Linked DNA regions of Homo sapiens: region 1 is linked to region 2. The links are contacts of gene promoters, found by promoter capture Hi-C in human tissues and cell types (Jung and others, 2019). All regions are on one chromosome and are shown on one strand. The core of a region is centred on a gene start or on the middle of the fragment in contact, and the rest is flanking DNA. Distances in the headings are between cores, read along the strand shown.

Region 1 (7,077 bases), core at 554-3,053, 260 kb before region 2:
CTGTGGTGTTTTAGAAAGTCCAAGAATACTGGTGCCTGGGTCTGAAGAGATCATAGAATTCCAGGACAAATTTTCTCATCTTTTTTTTCTTTTTTTTTTTTTTTTTTTTTTTTGGTTATTTCCCAGTCATCTCTCTCAGATGCTCAGGAGCCAGAGATATTTTGTTTCCTCCTTTCCTTGTGCTCGCGTGACTGGTTTACACATGACGTTGGAGGTTGATAGAGGGTTTATGCATAAGAACACACTGTCAACGCTGGTTTGGGGCACTAGAGAACAAAGATAAAGCAATAATATAGATTAATTTTGTTGTAATTTTTATTTAATCACAACAGGAAATGCTCTGTGTATTGTCAATAGTCATAGATTGTTGGTTATACAGAATGGTTATTTATAGTTTAAAAAAATTAGCGAGAGCATTGGTAGTGAACGTACCATTTAATTTGACCTGTGTAGAGTTCAGCACATTTTTATAGAAGGTTTTGGAAAGATGTATTATTTAACTTACAGGTTTGTGTCTTCCTGTGTTCTCAAGATTGAGAATCCCAGATGATCACGCGATTTCAGACCTATCCATGTACAATTACATAGAGGTGAGTGAGAAGGTTTGGCTTTATTCCATGAGATGGTTCACTGATATTCTAACAAGTGTTCTTTTCTTTTTCTTTGCTTCAGCCCCCATCTCATGCATGCTATATAAGAATACCTACAGATAAGAAAACACACACACACATAGCATTCCTTAGACTTGGGTGGATTGTGACTCTGGCCAGTGGCAATGACCAATACACATTATCTCTATCTACACTTTAAGGACGTTTAGGAGGTAACAAAACCTCTGATAATTCACATGCTTTTATCTTAGACATTTAGCAATATGTTACTTTAATGAAAATACAACTTTCAGATGTGTCAACATATTTAGAAAATCTAAGAAATGTTGAATGGCCTTTTCACTCATAACATTATAACTTGCATATTTAGAGTAGCATTGATTATCCTTTGGAAACTTATGCACTAAAAAAAAATGCATAATACCAAAAAGAAATTCATGTTCAGGAAGATTAGTACTTTGAAAAAAAAACATATTAATTCCATTTTGAACCAGTCACATGTAAAGCTCATGGTAAGTGATTGTGATTATAGTTTTAAAATAATAAAATGAAAGGATTTACAAGATAAATTTAAAGCAGAGTGACCAGCTATTTGCCATCTCTCCTGAAGACAGAAAGAAACTGGACTTCAGCTTGAGCAAAATTGCATCAGATGTGGTAGAGGATAACCTACAAGATATTGTAGGCTTTATTGATGTATCTTGTCTTCTCCTTTAAAAACGGGATGGCTACGACACAGTATCTGTCCTAAAAGAAAGAGTAGGTCCAGACAAACATAGCTTTAAACAATCTCTTTTTGCCGTAAGCAATATTACAAAACAACCAGGAAGCAACAGAAAATTAGACAAATCTTTGAGCTCACAGATTGCCTGCAGTTCTGGTTAAACAAACCCTCTGCTGAAATTGACTTCCTCTATTGAACCCTGAGCAAAATAAACTTCCCTAGCAGGTTTCGTGTAATTGCTGTACATTTTCGAGGCAACGTCCTATATGACCGACATTTACCAAAATGGATTGGGAATGACATTATGGAAACAAAAAATTATTTGACTACTTTGTGTTTGGCATTGCGATGAGTGGGAATGAAGAATAATACTAAGTCGCAGTGAGAAATAGCTGTATTTGTTCAAAAGCGTTCTTTAAGACTGTCATTATTGCAGATGCGAGCACATGTCAACTCAAGCTGGTTCATTTTTCAGAAGAACATGGAGAGATTTCTTCATGCGATTATGCCATCGACCTTTATCCCTCTCTATACAATGGTAAGGTCTGGACTGAAGACTTTTCCTCATTTTGATTTTCTGTTTAGCTGTTAAAGAATACACAAGAATACTTTTTAAACTTCCCTGCAGGTCACTTTTTCCAGAATAAGATACCATGAGGCTGTGCAGCGTTGGCATTGGCAAAAAAAGGTTGGAACAGTTACATTTTATTTATTTTTTAATGTGGTGTTTTGAAATGTCATAGTATTATGATTATGTTTGTTTCCAACAAATACAGAAATAATGGGACAGACACCAACTGTTTGCCTTCCAAACAGAAACTGTCCTGAGTACAGAGAGGGAACAGTGCTTACTGAAAAACATTACAAGGAGGTGGCAAAGAGAGCTTTTGAAGGGAAGAATCTCAAGATAGAAACTGATGCTAATATTTCTCAACTTTTTACTTTATTTTAGCAAGATGTACTGTTCTTGATTTTTGCTTCATGCAATATTCTTATGAGTTTAATTTGTAAAATTAGACAGAACTGAATCACTTTTAAAAGATCTATTCCAATGGAATGCTATAATACATCCATTTTGGGCAGTTGGCCTAGAGAAGCCATTAAATGGAAGGAATTCTGATTCCCTAGTCTTCCACTTTGGGGATTTTACAACGTCATTTATTCAACAGACAGTTTTATTTGGTACATAGATAGCACTGAGCTGGCATGGTGATGAACATGACCAGTTCACACCTTTCACAAAGCTCAGAGGCTAGTAGGGGATACAGACAGTGGCACTGGAGAGAGATAAACTGCCCCCGAGGAGAACAGGAGGGGCCAGGACAGGGGAAGGCGGAAGACACATGAGAAACATATTTCAGTGGAGCTGGAAGGCAGCACAGTGTGTGAGAATGGTCAGAGGGTGGAGGCGGGGCTTTAAACACCTGGAGTATTATCTTGAGAGAAACAGGGAGCCCAGGGAGGCCAGCAGACTCAGGTATGGATTTTAGAAAGATGTCTATATGGAGAATGGATTGGAAGAAATCAAGGTTTATCTGTGCAAGATGAATAAAACAGGGCCCCCACCCTTAAGGAGCTGAAAGTCTAAAAGGGGAAAAGATACCAGCAGGCAGTTAGAATGCAGGACAGTAAGTGCGGGGATAGAAATAGGCCAGGCAAATCCTTCAAGGAGGGATAAAAGTCAATCTTCAAACATTAACTTAAGCAGACCAAAAATTCTGATGACCACATCTAGATTATTTTTTATAAAAATGATTTTCACTATAGCTATGTTAGTTATGCTAAGCTACTGTCCAATCTCTTGTGATGTGTAACTTTTACATGTGAGTATTCAAGTAGATTTCTCTGTCAAAAAAAAAAAAAGAAAAGAAATAGGCCAGGATGCCATGGGAAAGCACCTGACTCAGGCTGGAATGAGCCTCAGGCCACTGTTTACAGCTGGTGTTTAGTCTCCACATAAGTCTTAGTCACAGAGGCCACCAGGCCACCACTCTTCTCCTGGAGACTTTTGGGAAGCTTCTGAGAAGGAATGAATGATGTGTGGCCCCAGCACAGCAGTACTCTTCTAAGAATTCACAGCTCTTTTTCTAAACTGCAAAGGTTTTTTAATGGCTGGACAAAAGCTGACTGCTAAATTTTTTTCATACAGAAGACCTGGATTCATGAGTTTCCTGGGAGAGAGGGAGAAGGGAGGCTCCCAATCCTTGACTTTATCTTGATCTTATCAGTTCCTGATCTGGTGGTCATGCAAGTAAATTGTTGTTTCAGGTTAAAGAACAAAGAGGACATTGTTTACCCCTTTGTTGTTAAAAAATGAAGTCTATTTTCAGATTTTAATCTCTGGACAAATGAAATGAGAGTTCTTGCTGTCTTACAGGTGATAAACAAAGGACTCTTTTTCTTGGGATCACTGATAGCCATCAGCAGTACCTACCTACTTATACACTACATGTCACCACGATCTTTCCTCCGCTTGAGAAGACCATGGAACTGGATAGCTCACTTCCGGAATACAACATGTTTCCCCGCAAAGGCCGTGGACTCCCTAGAACAAATTTCCAATCTCATTAGCAGGTGATAGAAAGGTTTTGTGGTAGCAAATGCATGATTTCTCTGTGACCAAAATTAAGCATGAAAAAAATGTTTCCATTGCCATATTTGATTCACTAGTGGAAGATAGTGTTCTGCTTATAATTAAACTGAATGTAGAGTATCTCTGTATGTTAATTGCAATTACTGGTTGGGGGGTGCATTTTAAAAGATGAAACATGCAGCTTCCCTACATTACACACACTCAGGTTGAGTCATTCTAACTATAAAAGTGCAATGACTAAGATCCTTCACTTCTCTGAAAGTAAGGCCCTAGATGCCTCAGGGAAGACAGTAATCATGCCTTTTCTTTAAAAGACACAATAGGACTCGCAACAGCATTGACTCAACACCTAGGACTAAAAATCACAACTTAACTAGCATGTTAACTGCACTTTTCATTACGTGAATGGAACTTACCTAACCACAGGGCTCAGACTTACTAGATAAAACCAGAAATGGAAATAAGGAATTCAGGGGAGTTCCAGAGACTTACAAAATGAACTCATTTTATTTTCCCACCTTCAAATATAAGTATTATCATCTATCTGTTTATCGTCTATCTATCTATCATCTATCTATCTATCTATCATCTATCTATCTATCTATCTATCTATCTATCTATCTATCTATCTCTATTTATTTATGTATTTAGAGATCAGGTCTCACTCTGTTGACCAGGCTGGAGTGCAGTGGTGAGATCTGGGTTCACTGCAACCTCTGCCTCCTGGGCTCAAGCAATCCTCCCACTTCAGCCTCCCAAATAGCTGGGGCTACCATGGTATTTTTCAGTAGAGACCGGGTCTTGCCATGCTGCCCAGGCCAGTCTCAAACTCCTGGCCTCATGTGATCTGCCCACCTCAGCCTCCCAAAGTACAGGGATTAGAGTTGTGAGCCACCGCTGCCAGCCCAGAGTTACCCTCTAAAGATAAGAAAAAGGCTATTAATATCATACTAAGTGAAGGACAGGAAAGGGTTTTATTCATAAATTAAATGTCTACATGTGCCAGAATGGAAAGGAAACAAGGGGAGACAACTTTTATAGAAATACAAAGCCATTACTTTATTCAATTTCAGACCCTCAGAAGCAATTTACTAATTTATTCTTCGACTACATACTGCAGCAGAACCAGCAATACACTTGATTTTTAAAAGCACATTTAGTGAAATGTTTTCTTTGGTTCATCCTTCTTTAACAGGCTGCTGAGTCACTCAGAAATCCTTCAAACATGATTAATTATGAAGATGAAACACTAGAGTCATATAAGAAATAAAAATTGGGCAATAAAATAAAATGATTCAGTGTTTCTTTTCTATATTGTCAATGAAAACCTTGAGTTCTAATAATCCATGTTCAGTTTGTAGGGAAAGAAAAAATAATTTTTCCTTCTACCCACTTTAGGTTCCTTGGCTGGGGCCCCTATAACAAAAGACAGATTGACAAGAGAAAAACAAACATAAATTTATTAGCGGGTATATGTAATATATATGTGGGAAATACAGGGGAATGAGCAAATCTCAAAGAGCTGGCGTCTTAGAACTCCCTGGCTTATATAGCATCGACAAAGAACAGTAAATTTTTAGAGAAACAACAAAACAAAGAAAAAGAGCTTTGAGTCTGTAGGGGCAGCAATTTGGGGGAAGCAAATATATGGGAGTTTGCCTTGTAGATTCCTCTGGTGCTGGTCTCCAGGCTGACAAGGATTCAAAGTTGTCTCTGAAACTCCTCTTTGTCATACTGCACATATAAAACGTCTTTTGTTTCCAACAAGAGGATTTTCTTTTTCATTCTAGAATTATCTCCTTGATAACTTGATCAGATATAGGACATGACACTGAATAGAGTCCAACAGTACAAAAAAAATTCAGTATGTTCTAGCTACTTCACACATGTGTACGCGACAGTTATTTTTACAGTAAGGTATTTTCGAGAAAAATGCATTACGTGTTTTGGAAAATAGAGTAATTTAAAAAATATATTTGAAATGAAAATCTCCAACACATTAGAAGATGATGATGTTAGATGCCCATCGTGTGCCACAAGTGGTTTTTTCATTATGTAAAGCACCCGTTGAATTAAAAGAATTTGTTTTTGTTCAACCTCTTCCTGAGGCCCAAGAGCATATGGGCAATTCGGATTTCCTGCTGGACCACAAGGTTCTGTTGATATTACATAGAACGGGTATTCCAGACACTTCTTATGATGAAAGTCCAAAAGTGGCATCCAATTTAAGGCCCCATCTTTCGTTGCCATTCTTCATTCCTACAAAGGACGAACTTGGATTACATCAACTTTGGACCCATTGGTTTTGTCGCTGTCGTCAACTGACAGTGATTCATCACTGGTGATGATAAAAATGATGGAAGAAGAGTTGAAAGTCACTTTTTTCTTTGGCCTGTCCCCATCTTTCTGTGACATCACAATGGGTCTGATCTGCATTTCACTTCCAGCTGCTGGTAGGTCTTTAGCAGGCCTCTGGCACCTCAGCAGTCGGAGGCACAGAAGCTGCAAAAGGGATCTTCGAAACTGGGCAGAGAAAAAATAAAGTGGAATATTAAGTAAAAGTTGGGCACTAATCTGGATTAACATTCGAGGAAATCAGTTGAGCTGAATTTAAGTTGTTTTTTGTTTGTTAGCAGGTGTGGATGTGGGGTTATGTGGTCATGCTCAGATCTACCTAAATCACCCCAGAGCTTTATGTCTTTTATTCATTCTAATTCTTATTAACCGGAATATGTAGGACCATTTCAATACCTTGTAATCCTCCAAGCTTCAATCTGCACACACTTTCTATGAGGGCAGGTACAACTATTAAGAGATTTTGAACATTAAGTTAGTCCACAAATATTCAGTGGGCATCTACTAGGTGACAGCCACTGTGCTATAATTAGAGACTTTTTACTATAAGCATCAAAAACAGATAAGGCTCTTCCTGGCAGAGTTTACAGCCTGGTGTACTTGCTAATGTCTCTTTAATTAGGTGAAGAATTTTTTTTTTCTATCGAAATTACTAATCAGTTGGGGAAAAAAATACTATAGCAGACAGCACTAATGTCATCAACAAACATTGTTCTTCTCCGTGTCCTGGGTACAACATCGAATAATATTTCTTGGCCTCCTTTCCGCTTCTCCTCTCTGCTGTTCCTCTCTAC
Region 2 (6,654 bases), core at 2,821-5,320:
AGTGGGAGTTGAAGTCACATGCACATGAAGTTACAAGAATGTTCACAGAAGCAGTAGTAATAGAATCTTGAAACCACTCAGATATCTATCAATAGTGGAATGAATAAATTATAATGTACTTACATAATGGAATTCTACATTGAAATACAAACAAAAAACAAACTATAGGTGCTCTCGATAATACAGATGAATCTCACAAACATGATGTTGAGTAAAAGAGGCCAAATGCTAAAGGATAAAAACTGCATCATTTCTTTTATATACATTTCACAAACGAGGCAACACTTGCAGTAAAAAGGCAGATTAGTAGTTAGGACAGAGATATCTGATTGGAAACGAGCTACGAAGTGTCTTCTGGGAGGGACCAAGTAGAAGCAATATATGTTCATTTTGTGATAATTTGCTTAGGATTTATGCTTTCTGTATGTATGTTTTACATATATAATATAATGTAATAGTAATACAATATTACTATTTATAATAGTAAATGGAGGAATTTGAGACAGGAAGTACAGGATTTTTTTTTTCAAAAAGTTTTACGATAACAGGAGCAGAGAAATGAGGGGAATACTGAAGGGTTATTTTAAAGATGGAAGAAATGACTGTTACGGAAAGCTCACTTACTCATATTTACCATTGCTGCAAAACACCTGTTCTATTGTTTACTTAATCGATTTTCAACTTAAATTTACTTAAAAAGCAAGTTTCATGTTAACACTGTGTCACTTGCCATAATAGAAATAACCGTAAAAATACAATGGACACAAAGTCATTCGATTAAAATAATTTAAAAATGTAAAAATAATTGAATGCAATCAAAATCAATCAAATTGAGCTGCAAAAATGAGCGCCTAAAAATAAGTTACTTAAACAGAAAACCAGAGCCGTTGATGATCAGTCAGAAGAAAAAGGATATTCTGTTCCATATATATGTAATAGTCACCAGCACTGTGCACAATTCCTTCATCTTCACCTTTACACTGCATACATACTGTTTTGAACACCTATCCACATTCATTTTAACAGAGGAGCAAAATAAAAACCTAGTCCCATATGAGGTGACAAGACGATGCTGACTTGCCCAACACTTGAGGTTGTCCCTTGTTCCCATGTCTCTGATTTGGAGGGAAGTTGAGCTTTAGAAAAAGCTTCCTAATGCTGCTGACTAAAAAGAACCCCCACTCCTATGTCTCTTCTTAGAAATTACTGGTGTATGCATCAGTGTGTGTGTGTGTGTGTGTGTGTGTGTGTGTGTGCATGTGTGTGTGTGGTGGGGAAGGTGCTGCTCAGCTGTGGTTCTAGCAACCCTGCCTGAAACCAGGCAAAGGCAGGAGGCCATCTAGAGGGCACCCACAACTCTCACTAGGCCCCAAGTCATTGGCTAAGTTCCACACTGTAGAAAACACTGCCCTATAACAATGGAGACAGTATCTTCCAAATTAAAAATCAGGCAACCTGATATTTCAACAAGATACAGTATTTAAAGATAAGAGCTGGCCGGGCACGGTGGCTCACGCCTGTAATCCCAGCACTCTGGGAGGCTGAGGCGGGCGGATCACCTGAGGTTGGGAGTTCGAGACCAGCCTGACCAACATGGAGAAACCCCGTCTCTACTTAAAATACAAAATTAGCCAGGCGTGGTGGCGCATGCCTGTAATCCCAGCTACTTGGGAGGCTGAGGCAGGAGAATCGCTTGAACCCAGGAGGCAGAGGTTGCAGTGAGCCGAGATCGCACCATTGCACTCCAGCCTGGGCAACAGGAGCGAAACTCTGTCTTAAAAAAAAATAAAAATAAAAATAAAAAATAAAAAAATAAAGATAAGAGCAGCCCAGAAAACCCATAATAATAGTGCCATACCTAGGACATTCATGTATTAGTCCACACATTTGAAATGTTTAAAATCAACACTAGTGCTACTGGGATGTGAAAATTCATAGACATAATCCCTGCCCTCAAAGTAAGGTTGCCAGATAAAATTACAGAATGCCAAGATAAATTTAAATTTCAGATAAACAGGGATTTCTTTTAGTATATGTCTCAAATATTGCATTAGATATATTAAAAATTTATCTGTTGTTCATCTGAAATTCAAATTTCTGGGTGTCCTACGTTATTATTTGCTAAATCTGGCAACCCTACCTCAAAAGGTTTTCAGTCTATTGAAGGGCAAAGACAATTCAAACACAATGAGAATATGAGAAGTGTCAGGACCAAAGAGCCATCACAGAATGCTTGTGCATATCAAACAAATATCTAACTTAGGGAAGACATTTGGAAACTGGTAACATTGGAACTGAGTCTTAAGCTGGAAACATATGGGATATACCATTTATTTCAGCATTTAATAACATGCCATCATGATTTGTGACTTAACTGTCTCATAAACATGTGTTTTGTCTACAGAACTAGATCTTAAGTTCCTTGAAGACACAGGACATCTCTTTATGCCTCCATGCCACCTGGAACTGACAGGCACACTTAAGGCAGTAGTAAATTACTGCACACATTGATGCAAATGGTTTTGTCCTCCCAAAGAGTAAAAATATTCTGTTAGTGAAATGTATTGTAACTAGTGTTTTCTTTTCCAATTTTAGTCTTTGAACACTGCAGCCAAGAATACAGTTTGAAACCTTGGGAGTCAAATTCACAGTAAATACATGAGCCGTTCACAGTGCAGCAAACTCTCATGTTAGTTTTATGACAGATCCAGTGACACTGGAATGGACACCTTTTTGATTTTGGGGTTCCTTCCTAAGACCCCCATGTGTGATATATTCATGGTTGGATTCTAGGTACTGAAGCAGTTACTACAGCTGGATAGTCCAATGAGTGTAAGAAGGCTTCTCTACAAACACATGCTGCCCACATCGAAGTTCCTCTTTAATCTACTGCAGTTTGAAATTGTCCCCCACTTTCTCCAAGAGTCCACTCCAAGCTAGTTTAGGGTTAGGTCTACCATAGCCTTTGGAAGAGGGAGGGAAGATAACTTTTCTCATCTCTCCTAGTCCCAGCTCTAAAGACCAGAACCAGGGAGAAAGCAACACAGCTTTTCCAAACACATTCCCCAAATGTGGCACCTTTTCAACAATTTTAGTAACAAATTTAAGGCATCATAGATGCCTTTAAAATTGGCATGATAGATGTTAGAGTGATCATAAAAAGACTTTAAAAGAGGAAAAGATGTAAAGAACGTAATCAAATGGGGAGCATGTTTAACAATGTGCTCACTTCTTCCCCTTCAATTCCTTGAATTGAGTCTGCATTATCATTCCTATTGATCTTTGAGCCCAGAACATTACTTTGTGGTCTGGCCTAAGGTTTCTTCCAATTTTTTAAATTACAATATCCCTAAGAGGACAGCGACGAGGTCTGGGGTGTTATGAGGATTGGAAACCTAGCCACAAGTGACCATGAAAGTCCAAAATGCCTCTAAAGTCTTTGTCTCTAAGGCCCATTTTCAAGGTCTTGTTATATAGCTAATTTTTCCCCGACTTATGTCAAAAATAAACGAAGCTGGGTTCTAGGTAAAATGGTAGGGGCAGATTTTAATCACTACTACTACTGCAATGGGGAAAAGAACCCAGCGTGAACTGAATTCAATTTCGATTTGTAGAGGCAACCGGGCGTTTTAAAGAGAATGAAGGAATTAGGATGGGACTGATGACGCCGAGGGGGACTGAGCAACTTTTTCAGGTTTGAAAAGCCTCAACATCAACGCGCGACGGCGCTCTTTCAACATCAGCCTCCAGAACTGGGGCTGCAGCCAGGAGGGAACTACAACGCCCAGCAGCCCCGGCGGGTGTAAACACTCCCAACTTCCGAGGCGGTGCTCACCATCGGCCATCAGCGCCAGTGCCACTCGCGCCCTCAAGAAGCCGCACGGAGTTCGGGCCGGCAGCAGCGGCTGCAGTCGTATGGCAGTGAGCCGCTGTCTACCCAGCGAGACGGAGAGCTCAGGACGCAACCCTATGAGTTGGAAGCCGCAGGAGGCGGAACCGGGTTGCGGGATACGCGTTGACGTCACATCCTCTGGGCGGGGCCGCAAGGAACCCGCGCAAATTGAAAGGTCAGCCTTTCGCGCGCTGTGTAGGCAAGTTACCCGTGTTCTGCGTTGCCGGCCGTGGGTGCTCTGGCCACAGTGAGTTAGGGGCGTCGGAGCGGGTTTCTCCAACCGCAATCGGCTCCGCTCAAGGGGAGGAGGAGAGTCCCTTCTCGGAAGGTGAGAGGAGCGGGCTGTGCGGAGGCTAATGGGTGGGTTCCCTTGGGGGTCGACCTGCGCGTCACCTCCGACCCTCCTCTCGGGATTCGGGTCTTCCAGGAAGGGAAGGAGAGGGTCTGGCGTGATCTTCCCAACCCAACAGCGGAGCCCTTAGCCTGAGTGGAGTATGTGTTTTGTTCCGAGGGGACGTCTGGCAACCAGAGGTCTGCAGTTCAGTGAACGGAGGGAGATAAGAGAGCAGACGATTCCGGGCTGGAGCAGGCGCCAGGGTTGCCAGACTTACCTCATTTTTCCGCAGAAGCTGGCAGTCCAGGTTTTACATGCAATCTCTCCACCTTTAAATGTTGACAAGTACATTTTCCCATAATATTTTGCAGGCCTAAGGAAACGTGTCGTCTGGAATGGGCTTGGGGGCCACGCCTGCACATCTCCGCGAGACAGAGGGATAAAGTGAAGATGGTGCTGTTATTGTTACCTCGAGTGCCACATGCGACCTCTGAGATATGTACACAGTCATTCTTACTATCGCACTCAGCCATTCTTACTACGCTAAAGAAGAAATAATTATTCGAGGATATTTGCCTGGCCCAGAAGAAACTTATGTAAATTTCATGAACTATTATATCCGTTTTCCTCGGAGTGAGAGAAAACTCTTTTTAGATATCATCTGAGAGGTAAGAGACTGTTTTTCTGAAACTGTGGCTTGAGGACCACCTGCATCCAGATTAACTGCTTTGTTTAAAATTCATTCACAGCAGAACTAGTGAATCCCAGTCACTGAGTGGAGTTGAGAGTCTAAGAACCTCTGAAATTTGAGAACTGCTGGACCAGAGCCTTTAGAGCTCTGATAAGGTGTCAACAGGGTAAAGCTGCCTCCTGATCCTGTACTTTCTTTCTTCCTTTCCTTCCAAACTTAACGTTTGATAGGAGAGATTTGTATTATGAAATGCTAAGCAACTGCTCAGTGCCCATTACTGACTTTTTATTGTAGAGTGGGGGGAGGTCGTTTCATCAGAAAGGGTTGTGACAGTTCCAGAATCTCTGTATAGAAAGGGCTTAGGGGGCTGCAACCGGAATGGAAGGGGGTGGAAAGTTAAAGCATTTGTCTTGAAGCTGTATTTGCATAGCAGACGCAGTTTCACAGTTCTTTAGGGTAGCTTTCAGAGAGGCTGATGGAGTTGCCCCTGGGCGCCACCACTGTTTATTACCAGAATGTTCGTGCTTAGAATAATGCGTTCTAATAGCAGTGAATTTCAGTCCTAAAAAAGTACAGGATCATTTCTGTAATTCTTTTTGAATTTTTCCTTTGTTTTTTAATTGAAATACTTACCTTCCTACAAACTGTTTTGAGTTTCTACTCCTATTTGAATTTGCACGTTGACCCTTATGATTAATGCCCTTTGTAGAGGCAATGCGATGCCATCGCATGCATGGTTTTGTTTGTGCCTGGCTCCTTGAAGCATGTGTCAGGAGTGAAAGTGCAAAAGCACTTTGGAAAGACTAAACAAACAATAAGCAACAGTCAAGTGGCATTAGAGGTAGTATTAGTGATTAATGTAAATTCTACCCTATGGAAATTGTTTGATAGGGAGGAGCCCAGCTAAAATATTAAAGAGCAGTGATTCTTGAATATCTGAACAATTTCTGGCCGGGCGCGGTGGCTCACGCCTGTAATCCCAGCACTTTGGGAGGCCGAGGCGGGCGGATCACGAGTTCAGGAGATCGAGACCATCCTGGCTAACATGGTGAAACCCCGTCTCTACTAAAAATACAAAAAATTAGCCGGGCGCGGTGGCGGGCGCCTGTAGTCCCAGCTACTGGGAAGGCTGAGGCAGGAGAATGGCGTGAACCCGGGAGGCGGAGCTTGCAGTGAGCCGATATAGGCCACTGCAGTCCCTCCTGGGCGAAAGAGCGAGACTCCGTCTCAAAAAAAAAAAAAAACAACAAACCAATTTCTGCATTGGACTCCAAGCTTTCTCTTCATTTGTCTAAGATGTTTTAATAAATGTATTTTTCTTTAAATATTACTGTTCTCCCTGTCTCTTTTCATATCAGGTAGTTAATTTGGCACCATGGGGATACAGGGATTGCTACAATTTATCAAAGAAGCTTCAGAACCCATCCATGTGAGGAAGTATAAAGGGCAGGTAGTAGCTGTGGATACATATTGCTGGCTTCACAAAGGAGCTATTGCTTGTGCTGAAAAACTAGCCAAAGGTGAACCTACTGATAGGTAAGTCTGGACCTTATGTTAATTCTTTGACAATTAAGAATGAGACCTACAGTGCCTTTTTTTCTCCCCCAGAAACGGATTGTTTTCACTCAATGCCAGAACTTATCAGGAAGTAAAAGTTGTATGTTTTAGAATATTCCCAAATCAGGGATGACTTCCTTCTGTGATAATAGGCCTAGTTTTCTTTCTTTATAATAAGCC

Evidence for each region. The method cuts DNA at HindIII sites, captures the fragments that hold promoters and counts their contacts. A contact is called where the count stands out against the background at its distance.
Region 1: a contact is called between a fragment that was not itself captured here and the fragment with the promoter of EXO1 in region 2, in 2 of the 25 tissues and cell types used here (adrenal gland and mesendoderm cells).

Annotation. Positions count from the first base shown.
Region 1 is chr1:241,588,241-241,595,317 of GRCh38, forward strand. It overlaps KMO (kynurenine 3-monooxygenase), which reads left to right. Exons shown (of 15, transcript NM_003679.5): 12 at 508-590; 13 at 1,772-1,873; 14 at 1,964-2,023; 15 at 3,713-7,077. The coding sequence ends at 3,913. OPN3 (opsin 3) reads right to left here. Exons shown (of 4, transcript NM_014322.3): 4 at 4,884-6,451. The coding sequence ends at 6,188. Among named protein-coding and RNA genes, the nearest start is that of CHML, 49 kb to the right of the region's middle. The HindIII fragment of the contact is 6,440 bases long and covers 1-5,023 here.
Region 2 is chr1:241,844,134-241,850,787 of GRCh38, forward strand. It overlaps EXO1 (exonuclease 1), which reads left to right and starts at 4,071. Exons shown (of 16, transcript NM_130398.4): 1 at 4,071-4,220; 2 at 4,598-4,894; 3 at 4,979-5,083; 4 at 6,276-6,453. The coding sequence starts at 6,293. RefSeq lists an enhancer at 3,767-4,106. The HindIII fragment of the contact is 7,563 bases long and covers 173-6,654 here.